Linked DNA regions of Homo sapiens: all the other regions are linked to region 2. The links are contacts of gene promoters, found by promoter capture Hi-C in blood cells and fetal thymus (Javierre and others, 2016). All regions are on one chromosome and are shown on one strand. Each heading gives the region's core, a stretch centred on a gene start or on the middle of the fragment in contact. The rest is flanking DNA. Distances are from core to core; before and after follow the strand shown. Region 1 overlaps LDLRAD3 (low density lipoprotein receptor class A domain containing 3). Region 2 holds the start of FJX1 (four-jointed box kinase 1). Region 3 overlaps LDLRAD3 (low density lipoprotein receptor class A domain containing 3). Region 4 holds the start of LOC101928510 (a long non-coding RNA gene).

Region 1 (5,954 bases), core at 2,305-4,804, 400 kb before region 2:
CCTTCAGAGTTTTGCTCCCAACTGCTTAAACAAGCGATATCTTCCCTAGTTAAGTCATTTTGTCCACTATTAGTTGGACCTTCACGGTGATAACTTCCAAACCAACACCGCCAATTCAGTTCTCTTCCCTTCAACGACATCCTCCATCCACCCTTGGCTTCACATTTCCACCCCGTATTGCCAAAGATACTTCCATCCCTGGCACAAGCTCAGCATGTCCAAAACAGAATGTTGGGGTTTTCTTCTAAAGCTGCTCCTCCTGCATCATGCGCCATCTCAGCTGGTAGAACCACCAACCATCCCTCTCCCTCACCCCCACCGCCATCAACCAACTGATGCTTTCATTAATATGTCCCATCCCTGTCACTCACAACCCTAGTCCAAATGCTTCTCTTACCTCTTTGGCACTAATGGCTTCCTTACTGGCTTTCCTGGCTCCAGTCTTGGCTTCTAAAAGCATCCTTCACACAGCTGTAGAACAAATCTGACCACGTCACATGCTGTTTCAAATCCCCATTCCACAGCGGGTAAAACTCAAGGTCCCTGGGTCAGCAGAGGTGCCCTGGGTATCCTGGCCAGCCCACCTCTCCAGGGGTTTTCTCCCTAGTCCCCCAAGACAATGTACAAGCCCCCACTCAGACCTCTCAACATAACTTATGCAAACCTCTATCTCTTCATTTACCATAATGCTCCACAAATTTCTGTTGGGTGCCTTTCTTCCCCCGACAACTCATGAACAACTTTTAAACTACAGGAGGGAATGTGTTCTAATGTAGCCCAGAGCCCACAACAGAGTGTCTATCGAAATGGAGAGAGAAAAAGAAGGAGGGAAAAATGGACAGTTGCTTCCCTGTGCTAAAATACTATAAACATTTTGTGGATTATTCCTTCAAATTAGGATTATTCCTCCATCTTGTGGACAGTCCCTATTTGCATGCATTTTAAGATTACAGAACTAAAACATGTCTCTTCACGCTCAGATAATAACTTGCTTATTTTAAAAGGTAGGAGCGGGCATAGGAACCAAAAATTCATGTTTTTATTCATATTATTTTTTATTCATATTATTATTTTCTTTCCTGAGAAGGCTATGGACCCTAGGATTTTCTGTGAGGCAACCTTTACCTCCAGATTAGCTTGAGTGTAAACCAGTAATTCTTCATGGCTCAAAGTAAAAATTCAAATGTAGTCCAGTCCTTCATACTGCAACTTTGGCAGGTAAAAGCTTGCCTCCAGAACTCCGGGGCACAAGGACTTTGCATGTGATAACATGTGCTGTCAGCATCATCTGACACAGCTGCCCATAGACAAACCCAGCATTCTGTGATGACCCATGCCCACAGAGCCAGCTCACAGGGAATCAAGGTCAGACACATGTTAAAGGGGAAGAGAGCCAGGCCCAAGTGCATCCAGCAGGTGACAACGCCTCTCTGAGTCAGCCCTCTGTTTCTGCTCTGCACTGGGTGGCAGACCGCCTCTCAGTCACGCCTCCAGTCCTCCATCCACAGAGAGGTTGATTCACCTTCTCCCCATGGTGAATCCCAAACCATTAGCACCCTAACTTTGGCCTTTGTTTCTTTCTGTATCCAGGGAATAGTGACAGCTGCAACACAGTGTGATGGGCTACTGTGCTCTGGGACTCTCACCCAGAGCAGGCAAAGGCACAAGCCCTTTACTACTGGAGAGGTAAGGGTGAGCTGGCAGGAATGAAGGAGCCTAAAGGGGTTCAGTCGAAAGCTTGCCTCTGTTATCAACGGCCACTGAAGTGCTGGGACCCAGGCCCTTGGCCACCCCATTCCTGGAAGCTCTGGTGTCCTATGAACAATGAGGCCAGGTTATCTACCTATATGGAAGGTGGCAGCTCTCCACATGACCTGGATGTGAAGAGAGGAATAATGGCTCCACACGAAGCAAGACTGACATAGGAAATGCCAGCAGAATAAAGAAACATAATGAACCAGAGTGCCAGCACATCTCCAGAGACTCTCCCTGTCTCTCCTTTTGTCAATCAAGTGCCTTTATGCTAACAACATGAGAGACCATGGTTTTTAAGAGACACGGGGCAAGAGATTCAGCTTTGCACTGAACACCCGCGATAATCAGCTCCAACAGGCTCCAACCCCTGCCTGGCATGGCTCACTTTCCAGCTCAGATCACAATCTACCCCGTGCTGCACAAATGATAATGCATTTACAGACAGCCGGACTCTCCAGCCAGGAGGAAAAATTTCACCTAATTAAATAAAAACAAAGCAGAAAACCAAAGCCTTCAATGCCAGAAAGAAGAAGTACTTGGTCTTTTATAGAGTTTTATAGCCAGAAATGCCCATCGAGATTTTTTTTTCTAAATGTGTGTTTTAAAACAATCCTCTATGTCCCTAATTGGAACTCCTTAAGAGAACTGCAAACAAACCAAGAAAAAAATGAATAAAGAAAACGAACAAGCATGGCACAAAAAATAAACATGGCTAATAAATGAAAAGATGCACAGCCTCACTAGCAGGTAAACAAATGCACGTGAAATGCCATTGTTTAGAACAATGCGACTGGCAAAAGTTGAAAAGATGAGTACTCTTGAGGGTTGGCAGGGTGAGGAAACTGGCACCCTCAGACCCTACTGGTGGGAGTATAAATTGGTACCATCTCTCTAGGGCCATTTGACAGCACCTGGCACAATTTATAATGAGCTTACCTTTGGACCCACTGATTGTATTTCTAGGAATCTAGCCTTAGAAATATATAAATGCAGGGAGAAACACATAAAAGGCTGGGTTTTTTTTATTTATAGCATCACTTGTAAAAGTCCAAAACTTTAAAGAACTCAAGTGTCTATAAGAGGAGATAGGTAAATGAAAGGGATCTTCAAAGTTTGTGAAAATGCATATTATGAAAAAATTATGCATGGATTTTAAAATTTTTCTGTACCCAAATAAACTCATACTAACTTGTTATAACATGTCTGAACAGGATCGAGCTTGAGGAACTAAGAAGGATAAGACATCAGTTTGAAAAAAGCCCCTATTGGAGCAACATGAATTCTGCTAAAACTGAAGCAAGAACAAACATCAAATTTATGATGAAGCTTGGGTGAAGGGATGATGAAATCACTGATGCTTTACAAAAAGTTTATGGGAACAATGCCCCCTGCCAAAATCAGCAGTTTACAAACACCTAACTCATTTTAAGACGGGGCAAGACAGTGTTGAAGATGAAGCCTGCAGCCGCAGACCATCCACATCAACTTTTGAGGAAAAAATTAATCTCGTTTGTGCCCTAATTAAACAGGATCCATGATAAACAACAGAAATAATAACCCACAGACATCTCAACTGGTTCAGCTTACACAATTCTGACTGAAAAACTGAAGTTTCTACCTGATGAATGCCAAAACTGGTGCACCCAGAACAGCTACACAGTAGAACAGAGCTTTCAATGGAAATTTTAAACAAGCGGGACCAAGATCCTGAAGCATATCTTTGAAGAACTGTATTAAATGAAACATGGGCCAGATGTAGTGGCTCATGCCTATAATTCCAGCACTGTGGGAGGCCAAGCGGGTGGATCACTTGAGGTCGGGAGTTGGAGACCAGCCTGGCCAACATGGTGAAACCCCGTCTCTACTAAAAATACAGTCATGGGGCATGGGGGTGCACGACTGTAATCCCAGCTACTCGGGAGGCTGAGGCACTCGAATTGCTTGAATCTGGGAGGTGGAGGTTGCAGTGAGCCAAGATCACGCCAATGCACTCCAGCCTGGAGAACAGAGCGAGACTCAAAAAAAAAAAAAAAAAGATGATAAAATATGGCTTAATCAGTACAATCATGAAGAAAAAGCACAATCAAAGCAATGGCTACCAAGAGGTGAAAGTAGTCCAGTCACAGCGAAAGTTGACCAGTCAAGAGTAAAGGTCATGGCAACAGTTTTTTGGGATACTTGAGAGCTATTTTGCTTGTTAGCTTTCTGGAAGGCCAAAGAACAATAATGTCTGCTTATTATGAGAGGTTTTGAGAAAGTTAGCCAAAGCTTTGGCAGAAAAATGCCCCAGAAAGCTTCACCAGAGAGTCTTCCTCTATCCTAGTAATGCTCCTGCTCAATTCAACTCATCCAACAGGGCAATTTTTTGAGAATTTCAATGGGAAGCCATGAGGCAGCCTCCTTACAGTCTTGGCTTCTGATTTTGTTCCCTAATCCTAAAAATCTTTCAAAGGCAAATGTTTTTCTTCAGTTAATAATGTAAAAAACACATTGACATGGTTAAATTCCCAGAACCCTCAGTTCTTTAGGGATGGACTAAATGGTTGGTATCATCGCTTACCAAAGTGCCTTGAACTTGATGAAGCTTATGTTGAGGAGTAAAGTTTATATTTTTATCTTTTAATTATGTCTTTCCACAAACTTTCTGAGGTCCCCTCCTATGATGCAATATAGCCATAGTACCACATCAGCCTTTAAAAAGAATTCAGGAGTTAGAACGTACTGACACGGAAGAATAGCCACAATAGAGTCAGAAGGGAAAGAGCAAGTTGGAAAACAATATGTATAGCAGAATCCCATGTTTGTTCATCGCTAGAGATGTAGATGTATAGTGTACTGGTATTTACATTTATATCTGCACAATCTTAGAACACACACTCTGCAGGGAAGGAACTGAGAGGTCCTTTTAGAATGTGGGTATATTTTCTATTGGCATCTTTTCTTCAGAACCAATTGCTTAAAGTGTCACCATAGTAAATATGCCTGGAGAACTTACGAAAGCGGCCAAGATGATTTAGGGGAGAGGTGGCATAGCGCTGCTCATTGTAAAAATACATACACACAGAGAAAGATTTGTTCCTTTAACATTAAGAAACAAAACCCAAAAGGAAACAGTCATCTTACTCACCAAATTACAAAATATTTTCATGAAGCATTCCTTAAAGCACAAGAGAAGTAAGTTTGGGATAAGAGTACTTGATACAGTCAGAAACTAATAGTCCCAAATGTTGGCTCAAACTAAAAAGAAAAACTGAACAAGGAATCACTTGGAGAAACCTGTGGGTGACTGCTTATTAATGAGTTAGCATAGAAAATGACCCAAGGGCTATGTTTCCTTTTATTCCCTTTTAGAACACAAGTGTATTCTATAAAAGCTCTTATGAGCCACCTTCCACAGCCACACTTCTCCCCTCCCTTCTGGCCAGCCCCACTCCCCACAAGAGGCCCACACCTCAGTTGCCTGGGTGGGATGCCTCTGACTCTGATTAAGGGATGTAAACGTCATTCGTCCTCTGCGGGGAATGTGGCAGGTCTCTCCAAATCTCACTTGCCCTCCCTGTGAGCTCACACTTACAGCCTGCTCTGGACTCCTATTTCCATGCTACTGGGTCTTCCAGGTGGCATCAGGCCACGATTTCTGCTGGAAAACAGACGAGCTCATTCAAGGGCGCCTGGAACAAGAGTGCTGGAGTCTGGAGCCCAAGGCTTGTGGGAGGTCGGGTCGCCAAGGTTTTGGAGTTGTCCTTGCAACCCAAGTGGGTGGAGGGTTATCCTACAACCCACCTCCTGGAAGATGAGGTGGAAACTAGATCTTTTTAACGTGGAGTAAAAGGAGCCAGACATTCTTGCCAGTTCAAAAACAGAAGAAAGGAATCTGTGATGTTGGAAGTCAGAACAGTGGCGGGGGGCAGGGGGAGGATGGAGTGGGGGCACCACCGGGGCTCTGGGGTTGGCAATGCTGTACTTCTTGAGCTAAGCCCTGGTTCCCCAGGTGTGTTTACTTCATGGAAATTCATAGAGCTCCCCAGTTAACATCTGCGCGCTCTTCGGTATGTGCGTTAAGTTTCTATAAAAAGTTTACTTAAATAAAAAGTAAAAAACATGTTTTTGAACAGCACAGCTGGCTTATAGACACCATTCCTCTCCTTTCTTCCTTCTACAGCCTGAGCAACCAGCAACCTCACTATCAAGTCCAAGAG
Region 2 (5,916 bases), core at 1-2,500:
TCGTTATACTTGTCCCACATGCCTGCTACCCGGTAGCCGTGCACCAAGCCCGCCTCATTGTCCAGAAAGACCAGCGCCCCGCCCGGACCGCGGTGCAGGTTGCTGGTGGCACGCTGCATGACGCGCGGGTCCCACTGCAGGCTGAAGAGGTTGCTTACGAGCCGGTCGAAGTTGGCCGTCAGGTAGTCGAAAAGGATTAAGTCGGTCCATTGTACTAGGTCCACCAGCTCCGCCTGGCTGAGGTTGGCCAGCTCACCCCCGGCATCCCGGAGGGGGCGCAGACGGCCGTCCTCCGAGCGCCAGGGCGCGGGCACCACCACGTCCGTGAGGTTGGGCAGCCAGCGTGTCAGGCTCACCACGCTGCCCTCGGTCCAGTGCGCAGCGCGCAGCTCCTCCTGCACCTGCGCCCACTGCGCGCCCCGAGCCTCCACCCGAGCCAGTGCCAGCGGCGGCACGTGGCGCTGGAGGCCCAGCAGGCGCGCCAGATAGTAAGACAGGGCCTCGCCCTGAATCTGCTCCGGGTTGATGCCGTAGCGCACGCAGGCGCGGGTGCCGTCGGCAAAACGGGCCAGTCGGTTGGAGCTGCGCCCGCAACCCCCGCGCTCCAGGGCCACCATCCGGGCGCCGCGAGCCGCCTCCAGCCACGCCGCCGCCTGGGCCTCCGAAAAGCCCGGGGGCACCTGCTCCTCCAGGCCGCGGCTCCAGAAGACGCCCCCGTGCACCGCGGCGCTCTCCTCCGGCCGGGGCTGCCTGGCTGACACGTGCCACCTGGGCTCGCTCCGGGACTGCCGGGGCGGGCCGTCCGCGCCGGCCGCCAGGGTGAGCAGCGCCCGGAAAGTTTTCAGGGAGCCGCCGCGGGCGTCCCACGCCAGGGGCGGGGGCAGAGGGAAGCGAGGCGCGGGCGCGGGGCCGCCGCTCCGGGCCGGGCGCCGTGGGAGTCGGTCTTCGGGCGGCCGGGAGGCGGGCAGCTCGGTCCGCGGCGGCAGGAGCCCTCCCCACAGCGCCAGCAGCGAGCCCAGCGCCAGCAGCCAGAGCCCCGCGGTGGCGGCGGCGCCCCGCATCCTCCTGCCCATGCTCCCGCGGCTGTGCCGGTGCGCCGCCGCCGCTTCAAGCCGAGCCCAGGCACCCGGGTCCCGGCGGCGAGGCGGGCCCGGCAGTTTGTGGGCTCCGGGGCTTCGGGCGCTTCGGCCCCATCGCGGCCGCGGGGCGCTGCGGGGCTCTGTCCGGCGCTCCGCCCGGCGCTGGGAACTCGAGTCCCCGCCGCTTCCCAGCTGCTTTTGTATTTCGCTGTGAGACCCTCCGGTGGGCGCGATTCACAGGCGCCCGGACCACGTGGGAGCCAGGGGGATCCCCCTCCCCCTCCTCCGCCTCCGCTCCCCGCCCCCCGCTCCCCCGCCCCCTTCCTCTCCTCTTCCACTTAAAGCGGCGATGGCTCCTTCCGAGAGGGAGAGGCGGCCCCACACTCGGTCCGGGACTTGGGGGCCTGGAGGAAGCCGGACTGGCTGCGCCCGCGCCGGGGCGTAGGAGGGGGTGGCGCAGAGCCGGAGTCTGGGGCCTGGCGGGAGGGACGCGCCCTGGGCCCTCGCGGGGGTGTCTTGGTCGCCGGGTCCCTTTGCCTAGGCAGCGCGGGTCTCCTGCAAACTTCAGACAGATTTCCACCTCTTTCCGAGCTCCGCCAGGCTAGGATCAGGCAGGGTCCCTTTGCTTTCTCAGTTTCTGTCTGGGTGATTCACGCTGCTTTATGTAAATCTCTGGGAATGTCTCCGAGCCACAGAGGATGTGATTCCAGCGGAAAGAGGAACCCGCTGTAGCCAACAACTTTGAACCGACACTCCCTTTTCCGAGCTCGCACATCAGCACCAATCAGTATTGGCCGCTCTGCCTTTCCCAACGGACTCCCAGGGAATGAAGCCTCGCTGTGCACGTGCCCCTTGAACACCTAGGCCATCTCCCATTCATTCATGCATCCATTCAACACAGCGACTGCCCCTCAGTTCTGGTTCTGCTTACCAGAAGCAAAATCCACAGATCCGGGTCCCAGTGCTGCTGAAATTTACATTCCAGTGGGACTCTCAGGTTGCTAAGAGAGATTATAGCCATCCAACCTCGTGTTGGGGAGAGGGGAGTCAGGGACGACTTTTCGAAAGAAATGATACCGTTTTGTCCATGAGGAAACTGAGGCACAGAGAAGGGATGGGTGTTGCTCAGGATTGCACAATTAGCAAGGGGCGAAGCTAAAAGTCAAACTCAGGTCTCCTGGCCGCATGCACTTGATTTTCCCTCCATTAAGAAAGATCAGTATTTTTTTTTTAATCAAGTCAGCATTCTCAAGTTTGAAATTCACTGTCATTTGACCACTTTGTTCCCCAAATGTGATTTTTCAATTAAAAGGATTTTTCAAATGGAAAGGAAAAAAACCTCAATCCCATACTGCATTTGATTTACTGCTTTTACGATTTAAGGGAAAAAGAAATGGTGGTGGTGGTGGGGGAGGGAGGTGGTGAAGGAGCAAAGAAAACAAAATGAACAACCTCTTCACCCCAACACATCTTCCAGCCACCTCTGGGTTACATTTACCAGGAAAACTTGGATGCCAGTCGGCCCTCCCTTACCTCTCTGTATCAGAATGAGTCCCAGATCCACACTGAGATTCCCAGGGTAGACACAAGATCAGGGGCATGGTGGAATCCACCTCTCAAAGGCCAGAGTTTGAAATCTGTTTCCTTACATGGTGTGTATCTTTTCTCTCCTTTCATCTTCCCATCAGGTGCACATGGGGGTTTTCAACTGGACTACCTCATCAGTTGGCACTGATTATGTTTTATTCTCCAAAGAAAAAACGTTCTAGGGTGATAGAGCGTTCCAGGGTGATAAAGCAGACACTCTTATGTTTATGGCTGAGCAGAGGCATCAAAAAACCACATTTGGAGTATTGCAGCACTGACCCAGGATACAGTCAAGTGTTTTCACTGGTGTGGTTAAGTACATACTGGATGAACTGTTGAATCTGTTCCCAACCACATGGTGGCTATACCATGCCATTTTATAACTCTTATCTGATAATGAGATTACTATGGCTCCCATATGGTTGCATCGAAATATATTAATCCATTCAAAGGTCTTATTTTTTTGGCCTATGTAAGCCCCTCCTCATCTTTCCCTAGCAGGCAGGGACTATGTCTTATTTTTTTATTTCTTATACCACCTAACATAGTATATTACACTAAATAAGCACTCAATAAATTTAATTTTTTTGTCTTTTGGTTTAACTTCTACTGGGATATATATGTATTTATTTGAAAGGCAGCCTCTTTCAGCGTGGGCAAACTATAAGCAAGATCGCCACCTAGTGGGCATAAGTAGAGTATCATCTAATTGGAGAAAAGTAGACATTTTTAACTGGATGATTAATTGTTGAAGTTAAATTCGGAAGACTATTAAATGTCTACTGTGTACCAAGCTATGTCCTAGGGGATATGGAGAAATCCAAAGTAGTTGGGGTCTCTGTCTTTTTGGCTGCTAACAAAAGCTGTAAGTAACTACCATTGTAAACTTCCTGGGGAGTCTGTCTTGTCCATTGTTTTATGGCTGCCTGGGCACAATGCCTGGCACTTAGTGTGTGTTCAACAACAATTTGCTGAATACATCGTTAGAATGCTAATGAGATGCAAGTAGCATGTATCAAGTTTTTTTAAATTAAATACCTTACTACTAAATAATGCAAAACAATTTTGTCCAACGGTTGTGAGTTATTGTTCAGCTGATTAAAGAATACAAAATAAGAACTTCCACTCATTTGAAAAAGAAAAAATATTGGTGAGGGTTTTGCATGATAGATGTGAGGGGAAGCACATGATTTTAATTCTGGGAGGGCTGGCTTCAAATCCAGAGACTAGAAATCCTGGAATCTCCTAACCATATTGCTGGTACTGATGAAAAAAACCCAGACTTAAATAAATTGACTAAGATCGTACACCTCATAAGATGGACTAATTTTATCATTGAGCAGCCCTTTGCCTATAGCCATAGGACTGAATGCATCATGTACCAGAACAGGATGCATTAATTTGTTAAACTTTAACAAATTAATTGAAATGCAGAAATACAGAAAACCAAAGGAACAAACACTGCCCCTTCCTCAAAGTGGAATGCAGTTTTGGAATGGTATTTGATTATTTGAGACAGGGTTTAAAAACATGCCTCTGTTTAGCTGTTAGATGAAAATACTCCCATTCTCCTTTATTTTCTGGACTGAGGACACTCCCCTGCCACCTGTGGCCAAACCACTTTGGCTCTGTGGGGTAGCATAGTTAATCACCTCAGTCACTTCTGCCCTCTGGCAGTTGCTTGGGGATGAGAAATCCATTTGCACTTTTATGACTTTCTTAATACTCCTTAGAATTTATCCCTGAGCCTGAACTTCCAATATCTTCAAACTTTTCCACAGTCCTGTTTGAAGAATGATCTGGTTCATGTAATGGTGCCTCCTGGGGGAAAGAGAGGAGGTGGAGTTGAGGGTTGGAAGCAGGGGAGGAGGCTTGGAATTGGAATATTTTCCAAGTCTGGCATTAGCACTTTCTGGCTTGTTCCTTGTTCTAGTTATTTACTTTCTGTGAGTTTCAGTTTCAGAACCTGAGAAATAAGTTAATAAATCCTTCCTAACTCACAGGGTTGTCATGCAGCTCAAGTGAAATATTAATAATAACCACAGCATCAGTGGCAGCAAACACTTATTGAACTCTTATTATGGGCTCGGTGTGGAGCTAAACCCTGCATGTGCTTTATCTCATGAAACCCCCCCAAAAGTATTATTATACCCACTTTACAGATGGGGAAGTGGAAGCTTAGCCAATCAGTGGAATGAGGTCATGCAGCAAGGAAGTGGCAGGGCTGCGATTCCAAAATGATGGGGACCAAACCTTTTGTAAATTATAAACTGCTAGGGAAATGTCAGGTGCAGAAATTATTACATTAAATCAAAATAGATTCAACTGAGATGAAATTTTGGTTTCATGTGTTCTCTGGGGTTTGTTCCCAAGTGAAATGGTTAAGAGTGTGAACTGTCAAGCCAGATTGTCTCATTAAAACCCAGTCCTGCCACTTACCAGGCATGTGACTTCGGGTAAGTTACTTAACCCCTTTGTGCCTCAGTGTATATATCTGTAAAATGCAATAAGAACAGTATTACTAGTATTACTAACAAAAATTATAACAATATACAATATCTCATGATTACTAGTAATAGGAACAAATCTTATAGATTATTGTGATGATTAAATTAGTGCTTATATTTAAAGTGCTTAAAAGAGCATCTAAGTGTTCACTATAGTATAGCTGTTGTTGTTCTTTTTCCTTTCTATTTCCTTTCTATTTCACTGTTTCAGTGCTCAGATGGGGATGTCTTCCTTCTCTTGTTGCTGTCCTCCACCAAGTCTCACTTGGTCTTGAGAGACCTAATACAAGTGGTGTTCCAGCTCAATGCACCTGCTTTATGCCTGAAATGGTGTCTTTCCTGATAATTTTGCAATATTTCTTCCCCATGGAGCTGGACCACCTGGCTTCTACCAAGGTTCCCAGTGTAACTCTTGTTAAATGCCCAGAGCCTCCAGCCAGCCTCGGGCAGACAGCTTCTGGCTTCCTCTCACTAGTCTGCCTCCTTCAATCCTGACCTTTTCTGGATCTCCTGAGTTATAAGCCCCTGGAAAAGACAGAGGCGTCCAAATGTACCCTTCCACGTGCTTCTACAAAAAGGAAGAGAGGGGACAAAAGATGTCAGAGATGAGTATAATATTCCATGGAAGTGGTATGACTCCTACATTGGCCACTACTCTTTGACCCTGGGGAGTTTTCTAACCCCCTGGGCTATAATTTTATTATGTATGTATCTCTGTTACGGACTGAATGTTTGTGTTCCTC
Region 3 (5,907 bases), core at 688-3,187, 350 kb before region 2:
ATACTCCACCCCATGCTTAGATCCCCTGGACAGAAAATACCAGGCCTGTATCCTCTCTATAAAGGTAAAGGTTCCCCCAGAGTCAATCAAGGAATCTTCTGGCCAAATCCAGGATTAGAAGCAGATCTAAACTGCAACTGGGCAATCTCCCTTTGAGACTAAACTGCTCATTAAGATGTCCTAGATACCCAGCATTAGAAAGTTACCACCTTGCTGGCTCCATCATGAAAATGAATGCATGGACTTGGCAGCGGCATTATGCAAGACCTGATTTGTCTGTCTCCACTTATGAACTGAGTGACCTGGGGCAAGATGCTTAACACCTCTCAGCCTTGATGTACTCATCTATAAAATGGGGTTAATATTCTTCTAAGTAGTTCTAACTATACTAATTCCAAGGGCTGCTGTAATTAATTGCCACGAACTGAGTGGCTTAAAACAACAAAAATATGTTCTTTCACAATTCTAGAGGCTAGAAGTTCAAGGTGTCGGCAGGGCCATGCTTCCTCTGAAAACTCCAGGGCAGAATCCTTCCTTGCCTGGCTTCTGGAGGTTGCTGGCAATCCTTGGCATTCCTTGCCCTGCACCTACATGCTCCAGTGTCTGCCTCTGTCTTCACAAGGCCATCTTCCCTCTGTGAGTGTCTGTGTACCCCCTCTTATTACAAAGACACCAGTCATGGGAATTAGGGCCCACTCCAGTCCAACAGAACTGTGTCTTAACGAATTACATATGTCAAGACCCCATTTGCAAATTGGTTTGCATTCACAAGTACCAGGTTTTAGGGCTTCAGTGTACCTTTTCAGGGGACACAATTTAACCTGTGACACCTACTTGAATGATTGTGAGAGGATTAAATAATGACCTAAAAGCACTAAGGACAGTACCCGGAGCACACAGTAAGCACTCCACACAGAACAGTTTTCCTCTTCCAGTGTGTGGCTAACATACAGCAGGCTACTTTCCCAGAAGATCAGGCCTAGCTTCTTTGCTCCTCATAAAAACAAAAACCACAAGCAAGAAACCAAAAGCAAATAAGCCGGTATCCTCATGGCTAATGCTGTATTAAGACTTTTAAAATAAACAAAGCAGGACTTGGTACCATGTCACTGAAGTAAATATTTTATCAGTGGGTCTCTGAAAAAAACTCCACGCATGCACGTGGGCCCCACATGCCTCCTCCCTGGAGGAGCTGGTTCTGCCAATAAGGGGCCTCAAGGGCTGCTTGAAAGCAGAGAGGAGTTTACTCAAGGTGTGCACCTCTGGTTCCAACATCTGGCTGCATTCCAGCTCAGCAAAGCCTTCCAGAAACAAGGCAACACGGGGCCTATGGACACCTAAAGCCCATGCTGAGGCTGAACCCTGAGCAACCTCAACACTGGTGCTTCCCAGGAGAGCCAGGCAAGAAAGCTCAGCCAAGGAAGTGATTAATAAATCATGGGCAAAGCTTTTTCCCATTCTCTGCTCGGTGGAAACCAAAACGCCTATCACAATGATCAAAGCTGCTGCCTGCAACTTCAGATTGACTTTGACTGAGCTCATTAAGTCATAAGCTTCTGCAGAGTGGATTTTCTCCATGGATAATGCTTGAAAATTAGGAAGTTAAGTGGCTTGGGAGAACCTGGGACCCATTAACCAACTAGCCAGTCAGAGCTTCCATTAAAAGAGGAAAATGGCTGAAAATCTGAAATCTGTTCTTGGGCAGCTGTTCAAAGATTCTATTATGAGTTTTCAGGGGAAGCCCCTTGGGGTTCACACCAGCGTGAGCAGAGAAGCCTCCATGGACATGAAGTGAGAAGGACCTCGACCGAGAAGACAGAGGCCTGGGTTGAAATCCTGGCTGCATCTGGAATATTAGGGATTTCTTTCCTCTCTCTGAGCTTCGGTGTCCTGAGGGGGAAGTGCCCCCCAGTCTGAGGCATGTGGATTCCACGGCTGGAACCTGTGTATAAAATCGTGACTCTGAGCCGGGGACTTGGTACGCACACCATATGCACTTAGGAAAGGGCTGTTCGTAAACAGATCTGTAGACGACAGAGTCCCATCTGCCAGTTACCAAATGATGAGGCCACACGTGAGGAATTTAACCATCTGAAACAGCTAGATGTTAGCTGGTAGAGGGAAAGGCAGGCTAGAGTTGTGAAACCTGCCAGGTTAAATAATTTTCTCCTCTTTCTGCAGAATCACGGTGTTCTCTTGCAATAGATCTTGCCTATGTTGTAAAGCTCTTTGGCTGAGATGGATGACAGAAATATTAACAAAAAACTGAGGCATTAAACATAAATTAAATTAAAACATTAAAACTGAGAAATTAAGCTTTTCCTGTTTGGAAGAAGAGACTCAGAATGTAGGGCAAAAGAAAGCACAGGGAAGCAGGGAGGCCCAGAGCCAGATCCCAGAGAAGAGTGAAGTGCAGAATTCAGAGGCAATGCTTACATTGCCCAGGACTCCTCTCAGTAACGTGCATGAACTCAACACACCTCGGGAAAAAGAAAAAGAAGATCCAGATCAGATTTTGAGGACTCCAGTGTCACACCTTCTCAAATATCCTGAGACACCAGGCCAACCAGGCAACAGGAACAAGCAGCCACATGGTGCCAGCCCCTCTACTCCCAAAAGCCCGCTGAGCCAGACGTTATTTCTCCAACAGCAAAGCCTCCTTCCAGAGGCTCTAAGCATTTGATGCTCACATCCACTCCTCCCAAGGATGAGATGACCTCACTGGCTCTGGTCAATACTAATCCCTTCACCCCAAAGTCCTATAGAAAATTATTCCTTCAATCCAGTGTCAAGAGGAAAATTCGAGATGATCTTGAGGAAGCTGGTCCAGAGGAAGGCAAGGAAGAACAAGGGCTGCCTGCTGAGACATGTGTTCTATGAGAAACCAACATGGCTTCCTACTATAAAAAAGAATGCTCGGAGGTAGAAAAAATTGGGGTTGGTGAATTTGGTACAGTCTACAAGTGCATTAAAAGCCTGGATAGAAGTGTTTATGCAATAAAGCACTATATGAAAACTTTTTCAGGATTTCACCTGAGAATTTGGCTTTGCGTGAAGTTTATGCTCATACAGTGTTTGGACATCACCCCACCTGGTACATTACTACCCCTTACAGGCAGAAGATAACCATATGATCATTCAGAATGGATACTGCAATGGCAGGAGCTTGCAGGCTGCTATATCTGAAAACACTAAGTCTACTAATCACTTCCAAGAGCCAAAACTCAAGGACATCCTTCTACAGATTTCCCTTGAACTTAAATACAGCCACAACTCTGGCATGGTGCACCCGGACATGAAACCTTGTAAAACCTTCCTTTGTCACAAGATGCAAAGTGACTCCTCTGGAGTCACAGAAGTTGAAAATGAAGCTGATTAGTTTCTCTCTGCCCATGTGATATATAAAATTGGTGACCTAGGCCATGTGACATCAATAAGCAAACTCAAAGTGGAAAAAGCAGATAGTTGCTGCCTAGCAAATGAGATTTTGCAAGAGGATTATTAGTACCTTCCCAAAGCAGACCTATTTGCCTTGGGATTAATCACTGCAATGGCTGAAGGAGTAAGGACATTACCCATCAACAGTGCTGCAAGGCACCATAACCATGAGAGTAACTTCCCAGACATTCCTCAGGAGCTCTCAGAAGACTTTTACAGTCTGCTCAAGCACATGATCCACCCTGATCCAGGAGAGAGACCTTCTGCAGCAGCTCTGGTCAGAAATTGGCCCTGGCCCTCCCTGGGGAAAGCAGAAGAGCTCTAGCAGCAGCTGAATTTGGAAAAGTCCAAGACAGCTGCACTGGAAAGGGAACTAAGGGAAGCCCAGCAGGCCCAGTCCCTGCAGGGAGACTTCCATCATGGTGACCCTCGGGTCTTTGGGACCACACGGGATCAGAAAACACCAAATGCCTGGTAGGAGGAAAGAGTGCAAGGTCTTCAAGCTTTACCTCAGGACAGCATGAGCCTCTGAACTAAAGGAAGAAAACAGGAAACAGCCCTTGCTTGGCCTTATGGATTAGGAGGTTGCCCTACCAAGGATCCCAGGGATTCGCTGTACATAGAAAGGAATAGAATTTGGTTTTGAATTCAAGTAACAGTTTACAAGAAAATGTGCCTGGATTTCCACAGTACTTCCCAGGTTATATGATGCTATTTCTGAAAAAGAGTTCCCAACCCCTTTGTGGAAGTGGGTCTCCTAATATATATACCCTTTCTGATATTGTATTTACTAAATAAATGGCTTCACCATTACATGAGGTGGGTAAAAGTAAGACTGTATATAACTTGGACATCTCTGAGCTGGTTGTTTAATTGCAGAACAAAAACGCTGGATGGAGAAGGTTCAAGGAAAACTTGACATGGCTGTTCTCCATCTACTTGCCCTGTCCCTCTTGTGGCCACGTTCTGACTGGTTTGATGTTCCAAGCCTCACCAATTTCCCTTTATTTTATCAGAATTTGGCCTTGTTTCCTATTATTTCATCATACTTTATCCAAATCCTTTTTATGTACACATTTTTAAAGGAAAAGAATACTGCATTTTTGCTTTTTGTTTTTTGGGACGGAGTCTCACTCTGTCACCCAGGCTGGAGTGCAGTGGTGCGATCTCAGCTCACTGCAACCTCCGCCTCCCGGGTTCAAGAGATTCTTCTGCCTCAGTCTCCCGAGGAGCTGGGACTACAGGTGCATACCACCACGTCTGGCTAACTTTTATATTTTTAGTAGAGATGGGGTTTCACCATATTGGCCAGGCTGGTCTCAAACTCCTGACCTCTGATCCACCCACCTCGGCCTCCCAAAGTGCTGGGACTACAGGTGTCAGCCACTGCGCCCAGCCTGCATTTTTAAATAAAGCATTTTATCTTGTCGAAAGACAAATTACAGGTAGAGTACTCTTCTTTGTCATACCGTCACTAACAAAGAATGAAAAATTTACGTTAGAGAACATTTTACGTGATAAAAGGGTAAGAGAATTCAGTAGGTCAGTAGTAACATGCCTTGGCAGTAGGGCCCAGATTCACAGATCCAAAAGTTAATAACAGTCAGGATCTGCTATAAAATAATGTTGGTCATAAAGGTATTTGATAAATTGTTTGTGTCATCTTAATGAATGCAACCTGTTAATGATTAATGGCTTTTTTTACTGTTGGATTTTCTTCTTTTCCTGATTTTAAAAAGCGAATTTTTTAAATTGAATAAACCCTCACACTATTCTTTAAAAAAAATAGTGTGTCTCTGACCCCAAAGACTATTTAAGAGCATTAAATGAGACAGACCTCTCTCCTAACATACGCCTGGCAGATGCTAAATAAATCTTATTCCCCCATCTCTCTTTGGTTTCCTCCCTCCTCTCTCCAGAATTTTTTACCCATTCCTATCTTCACAAAGGCCTCCCCAGTTTCTCGGCACATAGTGAGGACTTCCTGCTTTAGAAAACTCTTCCTGAAACCCTAAATACCCACATACCTGAAAACAAATTACCTACACCCTCCCATGGCCCCCAGCCACAGCCTTGGAGCCTCCTCTCTTCCAGTCAAGCCTCTGAACAGAATAGTCTCTACCAGCAGTTCCCAAATGTGTGTTACAAGAACACCCTGGTCCGTGAAAAAGGGTTCACAGGTTAGCAACAAAAGTAGAAAATGAAGGCACAATTGCAGCAAGCTCTTCTTAGAATTAAACTTATTCCACTTACAGGACCATCCTTCATTCTGATGAGCCATTACAACATTTTTGTATTAAAACATAATTTATTTTAGAAAATAATGATTGGATAATTAGAGAGTGATTTGGTTTTCATTATTCTCATCTGATCAAATAAAAGCGGGTGACTCAACATCAAGAGCCCAAGCTTTTGTTTTTTTCTTTTTTTTCATTACTTTACTGGTCCATAATATCCAAGCCTGGGAAT
Region 4 (5,694 bases), core at 2,204-4,703, 460 kb before region 2:
CTTTGTATCCCTTTGCTGTAATTAATCACAGCCATGAGTATGATCATATACTGAGTCCTGTGAATCCTCCTGGCAAATCGCTGAATCTGGGGTGGTCTTGGGAGCCCCAAACAAATGAGTATGGTTCTTATCACCACTTCATAAATGCGCTTTGAGAGATGAAGTGACTTGCCCAAGGTCACACAGCTGGAAAATCAAGCACCGGGTGAGGCCCGGCATGCAGATTCCAGAAGCCCTGATTTCAACCAACTCAACAGCATTGCCTCTCTCTCTGCCAGAGGCTGTCACTTTTCACAACAGAAGGCAGACTCCTGCTCCAAATAAATTCTTCTTCCACTCATGCTGCACAAACAGTTTTAGCAGAAACTGCTGTAACTTGGGCTTAATTGAGTGTCCTGCTAAATAACAAACAGCCCTGTGGGGTAATGTACTCTCCCGTTAATGGTTCTGGTGCTCCGGCTTGCGATTAGGAGATGTAAGATGAGACCTATTGCTACATCCCAGGTAGCAGGCCCTATGTAGCATCCCTCTTGTCTTCTGTCTTAGAGGCAGGACCCATGGTCCTCCAAGAAGGAAGGGCCATTTCTTTGAAACAAACAGGCAATAAATTACCTCCATGTTCTTGCTGTCTGTAACATGCTGACTTTGGCAACAGCCAACTCACAATCATCAGGGTTTTAAGGCCTGAAATGTTCCAGGTTTCAAAAACCCATGTGGCTTTGTTTCACCTTGGAACTTCTGTCATGGTACTGGTGAACTCTTCTCAAAGCATAAACTCTGGACAGTCCTGGGTTCAAATTCCAACTCTATTTTTTATGACTTTGGACAAGTTTCTAAATTTTGGTGGACTTCAGTTTCCTTACTGTGGCATCCTGATAAGTAAGCAACAACAAGTAAGAGGGCCCAAGTCGGGGAGAACAATTGTTCCAAGAAATGGCTAATCACAAACCCACTGGCCCAACATCCTTTCATTAAATACCTCGTTCCACAAGTAGGCCCCTAGTCTAGCACGACCCTATAAAACTTTTCTCCAGCCCCTGTGGCTTTGCAGATAGCCCCTTCGCTGCTGTGCTGCCTCTTGCACCCATGCAACATATTTTTGTACTTTCGCTAACAAATCTGCCTTTCTTTACCTATGACTGTCTCGGTATTCTTTCACCACCCACAACATCAGCCCCAACCAGTTGTATCCACAGCACTTATCAGTAAATTGGAGGTGATATCTACTACCTTGGGCTCTAGCAAAGATTAAGTGAGATAATCTATACAAAACAGTATAGAGCATAGAATACAGTAGATGCTCAATTAATGGTAATGCTTATGCTATTTATCATCATCCTCATCCTCATCCTCATCCTCCTCATCATCACTAAGTTCATAGAATTTAAAAACTGATCCTTGGGCTGACAGAAATTTTTTTCTGATGACCAAAGTTTAGAAAGCTTATTATGAAAGGTCTCTATAAACTGGTATGAAGTGATTTCTAGGACATACTGATAAGTCAAAAAAGTAAAGTAGAAAAGAGTATCTATAGTACTGATGGCAGCAGTGGGCTGTTCAGAGTGGCCGCTGCCATCACACCAGCTGCAGTAAGGAAGCGTGAGCTGTGGCAGCAGGAGTGGCTGCAGGAGCAGCAGTGGCGGCAGTAGGTCCCCTGTGCCCTGCGTCCCTGAGGGAGCCAAAAACCCCACCCTCACACGGCCTGGTAGGATCCGCTCCCAGACCTGAAGCCTCTGCCACAGTCTTAACCTCGCTCTCCGCTGTATCCCAGGGGCCTGCGAGCACCCAGCTGATGGCACAGCTGGGACTTATGGGACTGGCCCTGGAAGCGTCAGGTTCATTTGTGTGGGGTTGACTGGGGCTGCCGTACCACCTGCACCTTGCCCGCCACCCTGGGAGCCACTGTGACAGGGCCAAGCTGAATCGTCCGCTGGTAGGGAAGCAGTGTGGTCGGTCATGGAGAGGCAGGCAGAGAGGGGCACTGAGGCAGAGCTGGGCCCAGGGCAGTGCCACACTCTACAGTGTCAGCAGAAGCATGGAGCAGGCAGGAGTCCCACCCTTCTGGGCATGGCTGCAGCCACCCAAATTGCAGCTGCAGATGCAGACATCTCTGCACTCCCTGGGCCCCCCTTACTCCCACAGGCTCAGAGGTGTCTGCTCCAGCTCCCTGGCCTCTCCCTGCTGTCAGCACCCACTCAGATCATGGAGCAAAGTTGAGGATGAGCCTGGGAACTATTGCAACCCAGCCGGATGTGTGCACGCTCAGGGCAGCACTGACACACAAGTCCCCTGCCACTTCAGCCGCCTCCGGACTTTGGGTGAAGACAAACATGGGAGGGAGACCAAGGGGGTGCTGAAGACAGCTTGGCACTGCCCTGCAGGTGCCCGTTGGTACAAACCTGGGCACCATGAAAGGCAGCAGGAGGCAGACATGCTCCTAGGCAGAAGGGGTAGGTCCCAGGTGAAGCCCAATCTTCAAGCCAGGGAAGGCCTGAGGCCTGAGGGCCAGGCTGTGGGTCCCGCAGACTGGAGTGGGAACTTTTCCAGGCCTGCCCATGGATTAATCAGCATGCACTTCCTCCCCTCTGAGGCTCATAAAAACTCCGGACTCAGCCAGACTTGAGGAGACAACAGGACAAGCTGCAGAGAGGAGCTACCCTCTCTGCTGAGAGCTGAACACTCATCAAGATACCCTGGCTACGGAGAGGAGCTGCCCACTGTGAGTCTCCTCTGAGCTGTTCTATTACTCAATAAAGTTCCCCTTTGTCTTGCTCACCCTCCACTTGTCTGCGTACCTCATTCTTCCCGGATGCAGGACAAGAACTAGGGACTCACTGAATGGCAAGGCTAAAAGAGCTATAACACAAACAGGGCTGAAACATGCTGTTTGCCCACCATGTCGCAGCAGACAAGAGGAGAGAAGAAGGAAGAGAAGAGCTGTGGCCCTTTGGGGAGCCCAGACCTAGGAGCAACCCCAAGCCAGGTTTGTGATACACTCTTTAGGGCTCTGTGGTTGCTGAAGTCTCCAAGGTTCTGGGCACCACACTGCATTCCCCAGTGTCAGCCATGGAAGCTGCTTAAGGTATGCCTGGTCCACCTGCAGCCTTGCAGGGAGCTGGCACCCATGCTGGTGCCTGGAGCTGCCTGCCCCACCACAGCTGGCATACCTGGCTGTGCAGTGGCTGAACTCCACGCTCGCTCACACAACCCTCACTGTTCTGCAACTGGCTTGCCCTTGGCAGGTATGGGATCTAGGCTGGTAGTGGGAGCCGAACGCAGCCTGCCAGGTCAAGTAGGCAGAGAAGCCCAGCAGGCCAGAGCAAAACTTGGGCAAAGGTGTCACTGGCCACAGAAATTTCCAGTTGGCAAAGTGATACCCCAAAGATCCCGTAACAGTACTTTGCTGCCCTCCATATAAGAAGAGAAGGGGTATAAGAAAACATACATGTATTGGCTTATCTGTGCAAAAGAAATACAGGAGGATAAACCAGAAACTAAAGAGATTGGTTATCTACAGGGTGTGAGTGGGAAAGGAGTGAAAAAACATGGGGAACTGATATCAGACAAGATAACAGGATGAGAAGGTTACACATTTCTCCGAGTATATCTATCTGACTTAACATATACTTGTGTAAATATACTCAGAGCAGTGTATATCTTAGAACTACGGTAGTATTTTATATACCCCAAAAATAAACACTTAAAATCAATCACATGTGGGGAAAACTCAAAATGAAATATAAACAATAACAAGTAAACATAACTGTATTACTAGTAAATAACACCACCACACTGAAGGGGATGGGGAAGAAAAGAACCAGCCTAAGTAACTCAGGAAAACAGTATGTTGACTAGATTCCATAAAGCTAAAGAAAAAAAAAATCTACAATACTGTACACTAGTTATATTTGTTTCTCCCAAGGGTATGGGTCATCAATTCTGAAACTGTCTTCTGGGTGCACTAGGGGTGAACAAATATGTAAATATATTGTAAGATTTCTGTCAGAGAAAGAAGTTGCAAATAAAGAAAGTGGGAAGGCTAGGCCAGGCGTATTGGCTGACGCCTGTAATCCCAGCACTTTGGGAGGCCGAGGTGGGTGGATCACAAGGTCAGGAGTTCAAGACCAGCCTGGCCAAGATGGTGAAACCTCGTCTCTACTACATATACAAAAAAATTAGCCGGGCGTGGTGGCGGGCACCTGTAGTCCCAGCCACTCAGGAGGCTGAGGCAGAGAACTGCTTGAACCCGGGAGGTGGAGGTTGCAGTGAGCTGAGATTGTGCCACTGCACTCCAGCCTGGGCGACAGAGAGAGACTCATCTCAAAAAAAAAAAGACAGTGAGAAGGCTAAAGTGAATCCTGAGGCTTTGGTTCATTGAAACTGAACCAAAATTTCCAATGGAAATTTGAAGGAATTGGAGGTCACCAGTATGAACTCAAGGTCTTTAAAAATTAGACAGACAGGATGGATGGATGGATGGATGGATGGATGGATGGATGGATGGACGGATGGACAGACAGACAAAAATAAATATTGACTTGTGTGTATGTAAGGGATAATGCACATACATACATTTCCTAGCTCTGTCTGCTGAGAGAAGACTAGAAGCAGTACATCTCAACAGCAATAAGCACACCTAGCACCCAGATCTTGGTTTCTAAATACCATTATCCAGCAAAGAGAACCAACCTCCTTGGAGAAATAGTTGATTCCAGGAAGAATATACAAACAAGATGAACCCAGAGTATCTTCTGTTGCCAGAAGTGTCAAAATAAAGTAAATAAGTGTCCAAATATCATGGGGGCATGTCAAAAGGACACAGAAGTTAACCTGAAGTTCCCAATAGCCAAAGCTAGAACCATCCAAGCAACAAAATCAACAACGGTATCAGATTATGACACAGAGAATAAAATAAATATCTGAGGCCAACAAAATAAGGATCTAGTACCTGAGACTGATACCAAAAATTGTTGAATAAGTAAGTAAAAAGGGGAGAAAGGAAAGTTCTTCCTTATTGAAGACTTCTCATTAATAAATGTAGAAGAGGTGCAGGAAACAGAAAGTCACCACGAAGCAGACACTATTGTAATAACTGTTACAGGCAAGATCTGGCAATGGATGCTAAAATTAGAAAATAAACACTTGAGGAGAAATAGGATATGCACAGTGTCAAAGTATCTTCCGCAATATGTTATTAATTACAAAGAGAAAAATAGTAACTTGACAGTGGAGAAACTTGGTAGATACCACCTCAGCCAAGGGACCATGGTCAACATCATCAGTAATGAGATACACCAACACTACAGTCCCTTCATATAAGATGCTGTGTCAGGGGTCCCCAAGCCCACACAGATTCAATGATTCACTAGGCTAACTCCCAGGACTTGGCATATAATCAAAGCTAAGATTTCTTACAGTGAAAGGCATATGAAATGAAGTCACAGGAAACCAGGCTCAAGCTTTCACAAGGATTCTTCCAGGGTAGACACACAGGATGTGCTTAATTCCTCCAGCAACAAGTTGTTGACAACATGTGTGAAATGTCATCCACCAGGGCAGCTCATTAGAGGCTCAGTGCTCACGGTTTTTATGAGAGGCTGGTCACACAGGCATTCTCGGTACACCAAATTTCCAGACTTCCAGCAGAAAAACAGCATCAACTACACTGTCTGCACAGCCAGTTTAGGCACAGTG

Evidence for each region. Contacts are between HindIII fragments. The CHiCAGO score rates a contact against its expected background, and 5 or more counts as called.
Region 1: a contact is called between a fragment that was not itself captured here and the fragment with the promoter of FJX1 in region 2, in 2 of 17 cell types (M0 macrophages and M2 macrophages). The highest score is 5.3, in M0 macrophages.
Region 3: a fragment that was not itself captured here is called in contact with the fragment with the promoter of FJX1 in region 2 in 2 of 17 cell types (M2 macrophages and endothelial precursors); the score reaches 5.8 in M2 macrophages.
Region 4: a contact is called between a fragment that was not itself captured here and the fragment with the promoter of FJX1 in region 2, in 1 of 17 cell types (endothelial precursors). The highest score is 6.0, in endothelial precursors.

What each region holds. Positions count from the first base shown.
Region 1 is chr11:36,015,372-36,021,325 of GRCh38, reverse strand. The region is part of intron 1 of LDLRAD3 (low density lipoprotein receptor class A domain containing 3); the gene reads right to left. Among named protein-coding and RNA genes, the nearest start is that of MIR3973, 8.3 kb to the right of the region's middle. RefSeq lists an enhancer at 2,358-3,557. The HindIII fragment of the contact is 942 bases long and covers 3,084-4,025 here.
Region 2 is chr11:35,613,794-35,619,709 of GRCh38, reverse strand. It overlaps FJX1 (four-jointed box kinase 1), which reads right to left and starts at 1,250. Exons shown (of 1, transcript NM_014344.4): 1 at 1-1,250. The coding sequence starts at 1,073. RefSeq lists enhancers at 1-295, 296-930 and silencers at 503-772, 783-1,042, 1,063-1,132, 1,230-1,391, 1,213-1,542 and 1 more. The HindIII fragment of the contact is 8,334 bases long and covers 1-4,845 here.
Region 3 is chr11:35,965,075-35,970,981 of GRCh38, reverse strand. The region is part of intron 1 of LDLRAD3 (low density lipoprotein receptor class A domain containing 3); the gene reads right to left. It also overlaps the pseudogene WEE2P1. Among named protein-coding and RNA genes, the nearest start is that of LDLRAD3, 24 kb to the right of the region's middle. The HindIII fragment of the contact is 763 bases long and covers 1,556-2,318 here.
Region 4 is chr11:36,075,034-36,080,727 of GRCh38, reverse strand. All of the region lies in intron 2 of LDLRAD3 (low density lipoprotein receptor class A domain containing 3), which reads right to left. It overlaps LOC101928510 (a long non-coding RNA gene), which reads left to right and starts at 2,827. Exons shown (of 2, transcript NR_135064.1): 1 at 2,827-2,983. The HindIII fragment of the contact is 4,017 bases long and covers 1,445-5,461 here.